Regions from separate parts of the Homo sapiens genome. Here regions 2 and 3 are each linked to region 1. The links are contacts of gene promoters, found by promoter capture Hi-C in blood cells and fetal thymus (Javierre and others, 2016). All regions are on one chromosome and are shown on one strand. The core of a region is centred on a gene start or on the middle of the fragment in contact, and the rest is flanking DNA. Distances in the headings are between cores, read along the strand shown. Region 1 holds the start of CRYBB2 (crystallin beta B2). Region 2 overlaps MYO18B (myosin XVIIIB). Region 3 overlaps MYO18B (myosin XVIIIB).

The links. The method cuts DNA at HindIII sites, captures the fragments that hold promoters and counts their contacts. A CHiCAGO score of 5 or more calls a contact.
Region 2: a fragment that was not itself captured here is called in contact with the fragment with the promoter of CRYBB2 in region 1 in 1 of 17 cell types (M1 macrophages); the score reaches 5.4 in M1 macrophages.
Region 3: a fragment that was not itself captured here is called in contact with the fragment with the promoter of CRYBB2 in region 1 in 1 of 17 cell types (M0 macrophages); the score reaches 8.7 in M0 macrophages.

The regions. Positions count from the first base shown.
Region 1 is chr22:25,218,154-25,221,431 of GRCh38, reverse strand. It overlaps CRYBB2 (crystallin beta B2), which reads right to left and starts at 1,793. Exons shown (of 6, transcript NM_000496.3): 1 at 1,766-1,793; 2 at 1-28. The coding sequence starts at 2. The HindIII fragment of the contact is 9,715 bases long and covers 1-3,278 here.
Region 2 is chr22:25,889,145-25,892,422 of GRCh38, reverse strand. MYO18B (myosin XVIIIB) reads right to left here. Exons shown (of 44, transcript NM_032608.7): 26 at 1,548-1,667; 27 at 1,011-1,119. MYO18B-AS1 (MYO18B antisense RNA 1) reads left to right here. Exons shown (of 3, transcript XR_938086.3): 2 at 1-196. Among named protein-coding and RNA genes, the nearest start is that of MYO18B-AS1, 9.2 kb to the left of the region's middle. The HindIII fragment of the contact is 516 bases long and covers 1,459-1,974 here.
Region 3 is chr22:25,779,621-25,782,898 of GRCh38, reverse strand. MYO18B (myosin XVIIIB) reads right to left here. Exons shown (of 44, transcript NM_032608.7): 9 at 2,701-2,843; 10 at 1,065-1,165. Among named protein-coding and RNA genes, the nearest start is that of MYO18B, 39 kb to the right of the region's middle. The HindIII fragment of the contact is 5,772 bases long and covers 1-3,278 here.

The sequences.
Region 1 (3,278 bases), core at 544-3,043:
ATGGTGGACTGTCCTGTGCAGGAATGACCTGGAAGACATGGGAAGCAGCAGTGAGGACCTGGAGGGGCCACTGGCTTTTTCACTCTGTGGGGCCTTGAGACCACTCCCCTCTGGCCCCAAACATTCTCTTTTTCTCCTGGTTTCAGACTGTCCCAGAGCTGTGGGGTCCGTAAGCAGCTACTTCAACTTCTGTCCTTAGCTTCATTTATTTCTATCCAGGCCAGCTGCAGGAGGAGGGAAAAACGAGGTCTACTCAAAGAAAGAGAGCAGTAATAAACTAGAGCTTAAATGAGGTCCAAAGTGGGTTCCCAACACTCAACCCCAGACAATGGATACCACACAGAATATAGAATGGTCAATCCCAGAACTTCTGCCTTTATGCAGTAATTTCTTAAATAAAATTGTGTGGAACAAACAAAACCTATGCATTGGCTGTATTTGGTGGTGTGGTGGTGCCCAGTTTAGGAACTCACAAAGTTCCCTGTTCCCCTGCTCCTTCTCCCACCCTCTCCCTGGGACTCCTCTCCCCATCCTGGTACCTAGATTTCTCTTCTCTGCCACTGGTTTTACTCCCCCATTAGTGAAATCATCTGATACAGAACCCACATTACAAGAAAGAGAAGAAATGGGTGCGACGGTAGAAATCCAGGCACTGTGGCAGGCAGCAGGGTAGACCTGCCTTAGCTAGTGAGAACATCAGAAAAGCCTGGAAAATTGTCAGCCTCTTCCCCCTTCCTGCAGAAGGGGTGGTCAAACCAGGCTGTGTTTCCCCAGGGGTAAGAGAGGAAGCCTGGCCTCCCTCTTCAGAGATAACGCCAGCTTCCAGAAGCCCCTTCCACATGAAAGGCCAATACTGGATGTTTCCCAGGAGGAAGAAATGCAGTTAAGCACCTTGGCAGCCAAATCTACTGCTCTCCCGCAAGAAACCAGCCCTCTGGGCTTGTCAGAGTGCCTGAGGTCCTGCCATATCACTTCCCAGTCCTGAGTGTTCACAGACTGAAGAAGCTCAGTTGGTCCAGTTCAGGAGCAGTCTCTGCTGCCTGCCAGAATTGAGACTCTGGGCAGGTCTCATCCTCTCCCTATGCCTCAACTTCCTGTTCTATAAAATGGGGACAGTAATGATGTCTAATAATACCTGTGAACAGGTTGTGAGGATTCAATTATGTAATGTATAAAACCGGAAGCACTTGGCCGTGGTCCCAGAACACACTCAGCATGCAGCAAATGGCAGCAATTGTGGCATTATTAGAGTCATTTCTACCATGCTTTAGTGGCATTGAAATCACCTGTTGCTGGGACCTGTCACATACCTGTGGCTGCATCCTATCCCCTAGCACTCCCAGAGGCTAGGCACAGAGTGGGTGCCCCCTAATTGCAGATGTGGAGGAAAACTGACTCACCCACCTAGAAACAATGCTGAACTGTCACTGGTTTGATTCTTGCAAAACCCTCAGTTACATTCTCCTCCTCAGCGACTGGCGAAACAAGGATGCTGATAGTCTGTTTAATATTAATAATAAAGAACATTGCCCCAATGCCCACTGTGTGCCAGGCACTGTGCTGGATGATCCCCTAACTTCTCTTGAATCCTTACAATAAAGAAGGCTTTTTAACCCCCTTCCCAGTTACCAGAAAAGAAAACTGAGGCTAACAGCATTGAAGTCTCTGCCCAAAGTCACTTGTCAGAATCTGGGTGCTCCCATGCTTGCGGACAGGGGTGAGGATGAGAGAAAGAAGGGAAGACAAGCAAGAGAGGCAATCTTACCAGTGACACCAGCCCCTGCGAGTGCCGTGAAGCTCGGCCAGCGGGAGGTGGCATTTATACCTTCCCCAGAAGTGCCGGTGCCAAGATGAGTGACCGCTGTGCTCCTGCGAAAAGCAGGGTGAGAATGCTGGATTAAGCTCTCACCAAAGCTCGGGTCAGCAAATGCCCACAGACATTGTGTCTCTGCACAATAATGTCATTAGCTTTCAGATTCGGCCGCGCCAGGGCGGTCAGGCGGCTGGGCAAGGAGATGCCCGCTTTGCATGCATCAGCCGTCCGGCTGCCAGGGCCAGGGGTACGCTGGGTTCACTGGTACGGTCAGTCAGGCCGTGAGGCATGGCAGACAGAGGAACATCTCAGTGGGCCTGGGGAAGAACAAGTAAAGAAGGGTGGTTTGGCAGAGTCTGGGCTTCATTCATCTACCCATTTATTCATTCAACAAATATTTGTTGGGCATCCACTTGGTGACAATCTCTGTTCCAGGGGAGTGTCAGGAAGAGGACCTACGCCAGCCCAGGCCATTCAGAAAAGCTCCTGGGAGGTAGCGCATCCCTCAGGGATGGAGAAGAGGAAGCCTGGGAACAGGGTGGGGGGACAGTTCCAAGCAGAAAGGGTCCATATACAAGGAACCAGCATGGTGTATTTCAAGAAGACCTGAAAACAGGTTAACAAAGCTAAAGCATGACATGTGACAAATAGGGCCTGTGCCAGGTGGCCAAGGTGGGCAGGGCCTGATGTTGCAGGGCCAGGGAGGCCAATTATGGAGAGTGCATTTTATTCTCAAGGCCCCTGGCTGTTTCTCTTTCTTTTCTTTCTTTCTTTCTTTCTCTTTCTTTCTTTCTTTCTTTCTTTCTTTCTTTCTTTCTTTCTTTCTTTCTTTCTTTCTTCTCTCTCTCTCTCTCTCTCTCTCTCTCTCTCTCTCTCTCTCTCCCCTCTCTCTCTCTCTCTCTCTCTCTCTCCCCCTCTCTCTCTCTCTTTCTTTCTTTCTCTTTCTTTCTTTTGAGATGGAATCTCACTCTGTCACCCAGGCTGGAGTGCAGTGGTGTGATCTCGGCTCACTGCAACCTCTGCCTCCCAGGTTCAAGCGATTCTCCTGCCTCAGCCTCACCAGTAGCTGGGACTACAGGTGTGCGCCACCAGGTCCAGCTAAATTCTTTTTTTTGCTGTATCTTGTTAGAGACAGGGTTTTGACATGTTGCCCAGGGTGGTCTCAAACTCCTGAGCTCAGGCAATCCATCCACCTTGGCCTCCTAAAGTGCTGGGATTCCAGGCATGAGCCACTGCACCCGGCCTGTTTCTTAACCACTGTCCTAGAGTGAGTTGCTCTTAGATCCCTACCACTGGCCCCATCGCTGCCACATGGGTGCCCAGCCTTTACTCACATTTCTTTTCTATTTTTTTTTTTTTTGAGATGGAGTCTCGCTCTGTCGCCCAGGCTGGAGTGCAGTGGCACGATCTCAGCTCACTGCAAGCTCTGCCTCCCGTGTTCACACCATTCTCCTCCTTCAGCCTC
Region 2 (3,278 bases), core at 467-2,966, 670 kb before region 1:
TCCAGAAACTCCTGGCACTACTGAACAAATGTATAATATCCCTGGGTAAAACCAAGAGTCCTCTCGCCTTCTCGCCATTTGGTAACTGTTGTGCGCCTGACACAGCTTTACCCTCTTTGAATGGGGAGAGCAGTAGTTTCTGTTCCACAGGTTGCTATAAGGATGAACTGTGATCTCATCATTCCTCATAATAATGGTAAAGTAGCTATTAGCTATTCATCACTCTATTCTATACATGTGGCTAAACATTTTCTATCAATTATCCAAGACAATCTCCATTTGAAAGAGGAAGAAACTGAGGCACAGCAATTTCTTTGCCCCAAAATCCAAATCCAGAAATACAACTTCATAGGTTCCAACTTTTAACCACTAGACAGCCTTCCTCAAAATTTACGTTTTCTTTTTGCTTTTATTTTTTTGAGACAGGGTCTTGCTCTGTAGCCCAGGCTGAAATGCAGCCTAGGTCTCCCAGGCTTAAGTGATCCTCCTACCTCAGCCTCCCAAGTAGCTGGGACTTCAGGTGCATGCCACCACACCAGGCTAATTTTTTAAATTTTTTGTAGAAATGGGGTCTCACTATGTTGCCCAGGCTGGTCTTGAACTCCTGAGCTCAAGCACTCCTCCCACTTCAGCTTCCCAAAGTGCTAGGATTATAGGTGTGAGCCACCACGCCAGGCCTCTCAAAATTTATTTTTAAAATATTCACATAAACATAAAAGTACCTTGCCCATAAAGCCACTATTTAAAAATCATTCTTTGCATTAAAACTAAATAGCACATATCATACAGATAATTTGTTACCTGGGATATTGTTGGATTATCTGATTAATATCTGCTTATTCCATTAGACTGTAAGCTCCAAGAGAGTACGCTGTGCCTGTTTGCTCTGCCAAAGTCGCAGCCCCTCATGCAATATCTAGCACCTAAAAAGTGCTCTATGAGTGACTGAATAAATGGGAAAGACAACTTTGTCCATCACCTTCCAGCCCCAAGGGTCCCAGGCTGCTCACCTCCTCCAGTGGGATTCCTTTCCAAGTCATTCAACTGAATTTTCTGCTGGGCTTCTTCCAACTGTTTATTCACATCTCCCAGTTTTTTCTGGACTTGTTCATGCTTGCTCTAGAAGAAAGGGCTCAAGGTCTAAACTAGAGCTGGACAGAAGACATGGGCTGGTCATCTTACCCATGAAGTGCTTCCAAGGCTCGGATTGGCCACCCTCTGCACAGCCCTGAGCCATGCAGAATCCAGGACCATGGGCTAGCCACCTTCGGCATATTTCTCACCCAAATCACCTCCAAGGCCAAAGACTGTCCACCTTCTGCACAATCCTCTCCTATTCGCCTCTCTAGCCAGGGACTATCCACCCATAACACCCCCAAGGCCAAGCCTTAGGAGACCTAAGTGTCCCCCAGGACCTTGAGCCCAGCAGTCAGTCAACCTGTGCATCTTGCTTAAGCTTACTGATCTCCAATGAGAGGGTCGGGGAGCAGACCCAACCATTTTTAGCCACCGTGTTCAGCCACCCCTGGCCACCCCTGACCACTCACCTTGAGCTCCTGGACCTCCCGGAAGGCCTGTAGCCGCTCTGCCCGCTCACTCTCCAGCACCTGGCAGGCCACATCACCTTTGAAGCGCTCATCGGCAAGGTCAGAGGTCAAGTCAGCAATCTGAGATGGGGAATGGGGTGATCAAGGAACGGTCACTCGATGGAGCCACCAACCCTTCTCTCCCCATGCACAGGATCGCCTTTGGACAAATCACTATCATGGGAAAGCAACCCTTGAGTATAATCAACTCGTTAAGAGGATGGACTTCAGAATTTTATTGGTCTTGATGTGGTTCAACACTCACTAGCTGTGTGATTTTACACCAAGCAGGATGCCTTGCTGGTTCTCAGTTTTCTCAGCTTTAAAGGGGGGAAAACAACATACATCATTATTTTTGAGGATTCAAGGAGATAATCCATTGAAAGCTTAGCACGGTGCCTGGCACGTAGTAAGTGCTCAGTTTTAAAAATGGCCATTTTAGTGGAATCTCTTCGTAACCAGCTTTTAGCAAATCATCTCACTGGATGTACCAACACTGTCCCTCAGTAAGACACACTGATGGATGCCCACTGCACCAGAATGCTCTCCACCAGACCACCTCTCTACAATGGCCCCATGGCCTATCTGCCTCTAGCAGGTGACAGGCATGCACATCCAGTATCACATGTGTGTGCTCCCAAACTGTTTTTGCCTATTGCATTTTTACCATAGCTATCTATTCAGTTAGCTACTACATAAACTTATAAAATATGGCTGGACAGAGTTTCCATGAAAACTAGGTTGAATGCCTTGGAAGGAATTAATAAAGGTAAGCTGCTTTTTAAAATGCTGCCAAATAGGTGTTGTTGCAACAACTAAAAAGAAACTTGAAGTAAAAAATTAGGTTTTTGTATTCAAATTACTTTGCCATTTGCTCTGTTTTAAAGAAGCCAAAATTGGAAATCATACGGTTGTATATTAGGAGCGTGGTTTAAGAAAGAAAGAAATGGATGGGTCCTGCCTCAGAAATGCAGTGATTTAAATTACACATGTAATTAATTTTAAAATAGGAATTTTTAAATGAATTCCCACCTGCACTGGTTTTTTTTTCTGATTAACTGACCAGCCACCGATGCCAAATGAGCAGGGCTTCTGTGGCATTATCGTTCCAAAATGAAGCGTTCAGGGTTTGAGGATATGGCAGAGTACGTAACGGGAGAAATATATTAGTGGAGTGTTTATGGCTAAGAGGCAGAGAAACAACCCTATGTAGGAGAAGGGCAGCTCATAAAACTGAGGCTACCTCTTATGGAAGGCAGCAGAATTGTAAAAAAAAAAAAAGAAAGAGGTAGGGTGCAAGGTTCGAGTCCAGACTCAACAACTAACACCTTGGACATTCCCTCCTGCTCTGGAGCCTTGGTCACCTGAGCTGTAAAATGCATTGAATTGGGTGCGGTCACATGTCCTCCTGCTGTAAATTTTGCATGTGAAGATGTTAGAATGCCTCACTCTTTCATCGGACCCTCTGCATCATGACTGATATTTAGAGGCGACTCTGCATTATCTTTACTGAGAAGGTAAATGGTTCTTACAATGAGCAACGTAGCTGCCCTTCCCGAGCTAGCCTCTCTCGGTACTGTCAGCTTAGGCAGGCTCAAAATTTATTCAGCTGTCCCATGAAGAAGGAAGACGCAGATCTATGTTCTGACATAAAAAAAATATATCCCCAAGATATATTGCCAAAGGGGAAAA
Region 3 (3,278 bases), core at 578-3,077, 560 kb before region 1:
GCTATACCACCCCACTCCAAGTTCTTCTACAGATTCTCAAGATCTTCTAGAAGTTTCCCTGCTGCTCAGTTACAATCACTCTAAAAACTGGGAGTTCCCTCTCTACTCTGCCTTCTCTCTGCAGGTTACAGCTGTCCCTCCAGCCTTAGCCAGGACACTCCAGACAGGTTGAGGCTGTCCTTCAGATGGGGAGGGAAGGTTGGGGAACAAACAATGGTGAGGTTAGAGCACAGTAACCACAAATTATCACCCCTCATGTGGGAAAACCCACTTTTTCCTCTCCCCGACACTTCACTAGGACCATGCCCATCCATCCAACAGAGGAGGAAACCAAGGCTCTGGGAGAGGAAGCCACATGAGCCACATGCCTAAGGATGCCCTGTAGATTTGGGGAAGGGCAGAGATGGCTTTTTAGGCCACCTCCTCCAGGAGGCCCTCCAAGATGAGGCTTGCCTGACTACCCAGCTCACTGCTCCACTCAGCTCCAGGTCCATCCTGAGGAACCTCATGTAGGCATACCCTACCATACACCCAAAGCTCCCACAAAAGTTTAGAAACTTCTGGAAGACATGGGGGTCTGCTGTCCCTCTCCCTCTTCCCATACCGCTGCCAGGGCCAGTACTGACATGCCACTATCACAGCAGACAGCCTTGACTCCCAGCATTTATAAAGAGCTGAATGTAAATTATCTCTCTTAATCCTATAAGGTCTATGCAAGGTGTTGTTTCCACATTACAAAGGAAGAAACCGAGGCTCAGGGTGGATGACATGTGACCTATAAAGAGCTGAATGTAAATTATCTCTCTTAATCCTATAAGGTCTATGCAAGGTGTTGTTTCCACATTACAAAGGAAGAAACCGCGGCTCAGGGTGGATGACATGTGACCAAAGTCACCCAGCCCATGAGCTGCGTGTACCCAGACAGCTGGAATCGGACGCCATGTTCCTAATCCCTGGGTCCCACGGCCTCTCAGTGCTGGGCAGAAGCTAAGGCTGGGCCCCCAAAGAACATGTGCCCTTTGTCGCACTGCCCTCAGCTGTCTCTTCCTGCCCCAAGTGCTCACCTGAGATCCAAGTCCAATCCAGCCAGCATCTGGGAGAAAACCAGGAAGTTACTTTCCCCTTCCGGCTGCCGTGCCACGCGGCTCTTCTCCAAAAGCATTGTCTGCAGGGAGAGAAGAGGGGCACCCAGTCAGTGCTTTGGGTACATCTGCACATGCCTGAAGTGCAGCTACCCAGAAGCCCCATTGGGGTGCCCCACTCTGATCCACTCTTTTTTTTTTTTTTTTGAGACGGAGTCTCGCTCTGTTGCCCAGGCTGGAGTGCGGTGGCGTGATCTCGGCTCACTGCAAGCTCCGCCTCCCAGCTTCACGCTATTCTCCTGCCTCAGCCTCCCGAGTAGCTGGGACCACAGGCGCCCACCACCACGCCCGGCTAATTTTTTTGTTTTTTTAGTAGAGACGGGGTTTCACCGCATTAGCCAGGATAGTGTCAATCTCCTGACCTCATGATCCACCCGTCTCAGCCTCCCAAAGTGCTGGGATTACAGGCGTGAGCCACCACGCCCAGCCTCTGATCCACTCTTCGAGACAACATCTCAGGTCCAAATTAATTTTGCTGGCAACCTCCACGTCAGAACTTCTCAATCCTTTGTCTCACTAATTCAGAGTCCACCTAGGAAATTAACTAATGCAATAGATTCATTTCAATTAAGGTATCAAAGGTAATAACAATCAAATGAGGCCACCTTCCAACATATTCCCTTTTTAATAGAAGCCTTTAATACCTTAACCCAAATAGTGATTAAGGGTAGGATTTCAGGGCCAGGACAGAAAAGGGACTTATTTGGCATGAAGGGGTTTTCCTTGAGTCTGGATATTATACCAGCTCCATGTTACAAACAACCCTTCTAATAACCTAATCCTATTTTCTGTTCAAACAGGATGTTTGAGGGAGACGGGGAGGAGTATGGGTGATTTTGGAGATAGGAACAAACAGGCCATGTGTTCGTCACACGCGGACTGCTGCAGAAGGCTGGCAAGCGTCTGTTTAATTTCAACTTGCGCTTTTAAGACCCGGCTAATGACAGCCTGAATTCTCTATTTGCTCATGAATATTTCATCCGCCTGAAAGTCTGAAGCACAGACGGGCTGGCTTGCTCCAGAAGGGGACGTTCCAGGGCACCTAGCGAGGTGGGGAGCAACTGGCCCCAGCTAGGGGATCCATGACCATTTCATTATTTTATTATTATTATTACTATTTTCTTTCTTTCTTTTTTTTTTTTTTTTTTTTTTTTTTTTTTTTTTTTGAGATGGAGTTTCGCTCTTGCTGCCCAGGCTGGAGTGCAGTGGCACAATCTCGGCTCACTACAACCTCCGCCTCCTGGGTTCAAGGGATTCTCCTGCCTCAGCCTCCCGAGTAGCTGAGATTACAGGCACCTGCCACCACACTTGGCTAATTTTTGCATCTTAGTAGAGACGGGGTTTTACCATGTTGGTCAGGCTGGTCTCAAACCCCAGACCTCAGGTGATCCACCCACCTCAGCCTCCCAAAGTGCTGGGATTACAGGCCTGAGCCACCGCCATGACCATTTCAGACACATCCTAGAGTCCCAGCTGGAGGCGTGGGCTCTGCTGAGTCCCGGGGTTAGAGACACAGCAGCCCCAAGGGCCCCCTTGCACATCCCCCGAGAGGCCTCACCTGGAGCTGAGCAGCTGTGATGCGGCCTGTAGCGTTGAAGTCCAGCGACATCACCATGGAGAACCGGGTGGCACTGCGGCTGTGGGCCATGGACACAGAGCCGAAGGCCCGGAGGACAGTGAAGGTGGCTCGGATCTTCTCCACTGTTGGGGGCAGCATGGGGCCACATGTCACTGATGGCCCAGGTGCTGCCACTGCCACCTCACACAGGTCCACCTTTTCCACGGCCCCTGCTTGGGCCAGTCCCCATCCTGGCCTCAGCCCCCGGTGGGCTTCCTGTGAGCTTCCTGCCACCCACTCCCTGCCCAACCCAACTATAAACCACATACATTTCACTGAGCACCGATTGCTGGGCTGAACCTGTACTACCAGCTCTAGTGTAGGGGAAACAAGACTCAATCTAGAAGGGCCAGGGCTAGGCACAATCTGGGTAACAGAGGCTGCCCTAGGGCTTCCCAGACCTAATGGAGCCTAGGAAGAGGTGAGGATAACATTCTAGGGCCTGCACTCACAGCTTAGAGGCAGGCTTGCAAAATCCTATAATCTCCCCACTACTATTCATTGCATACCTACAATGC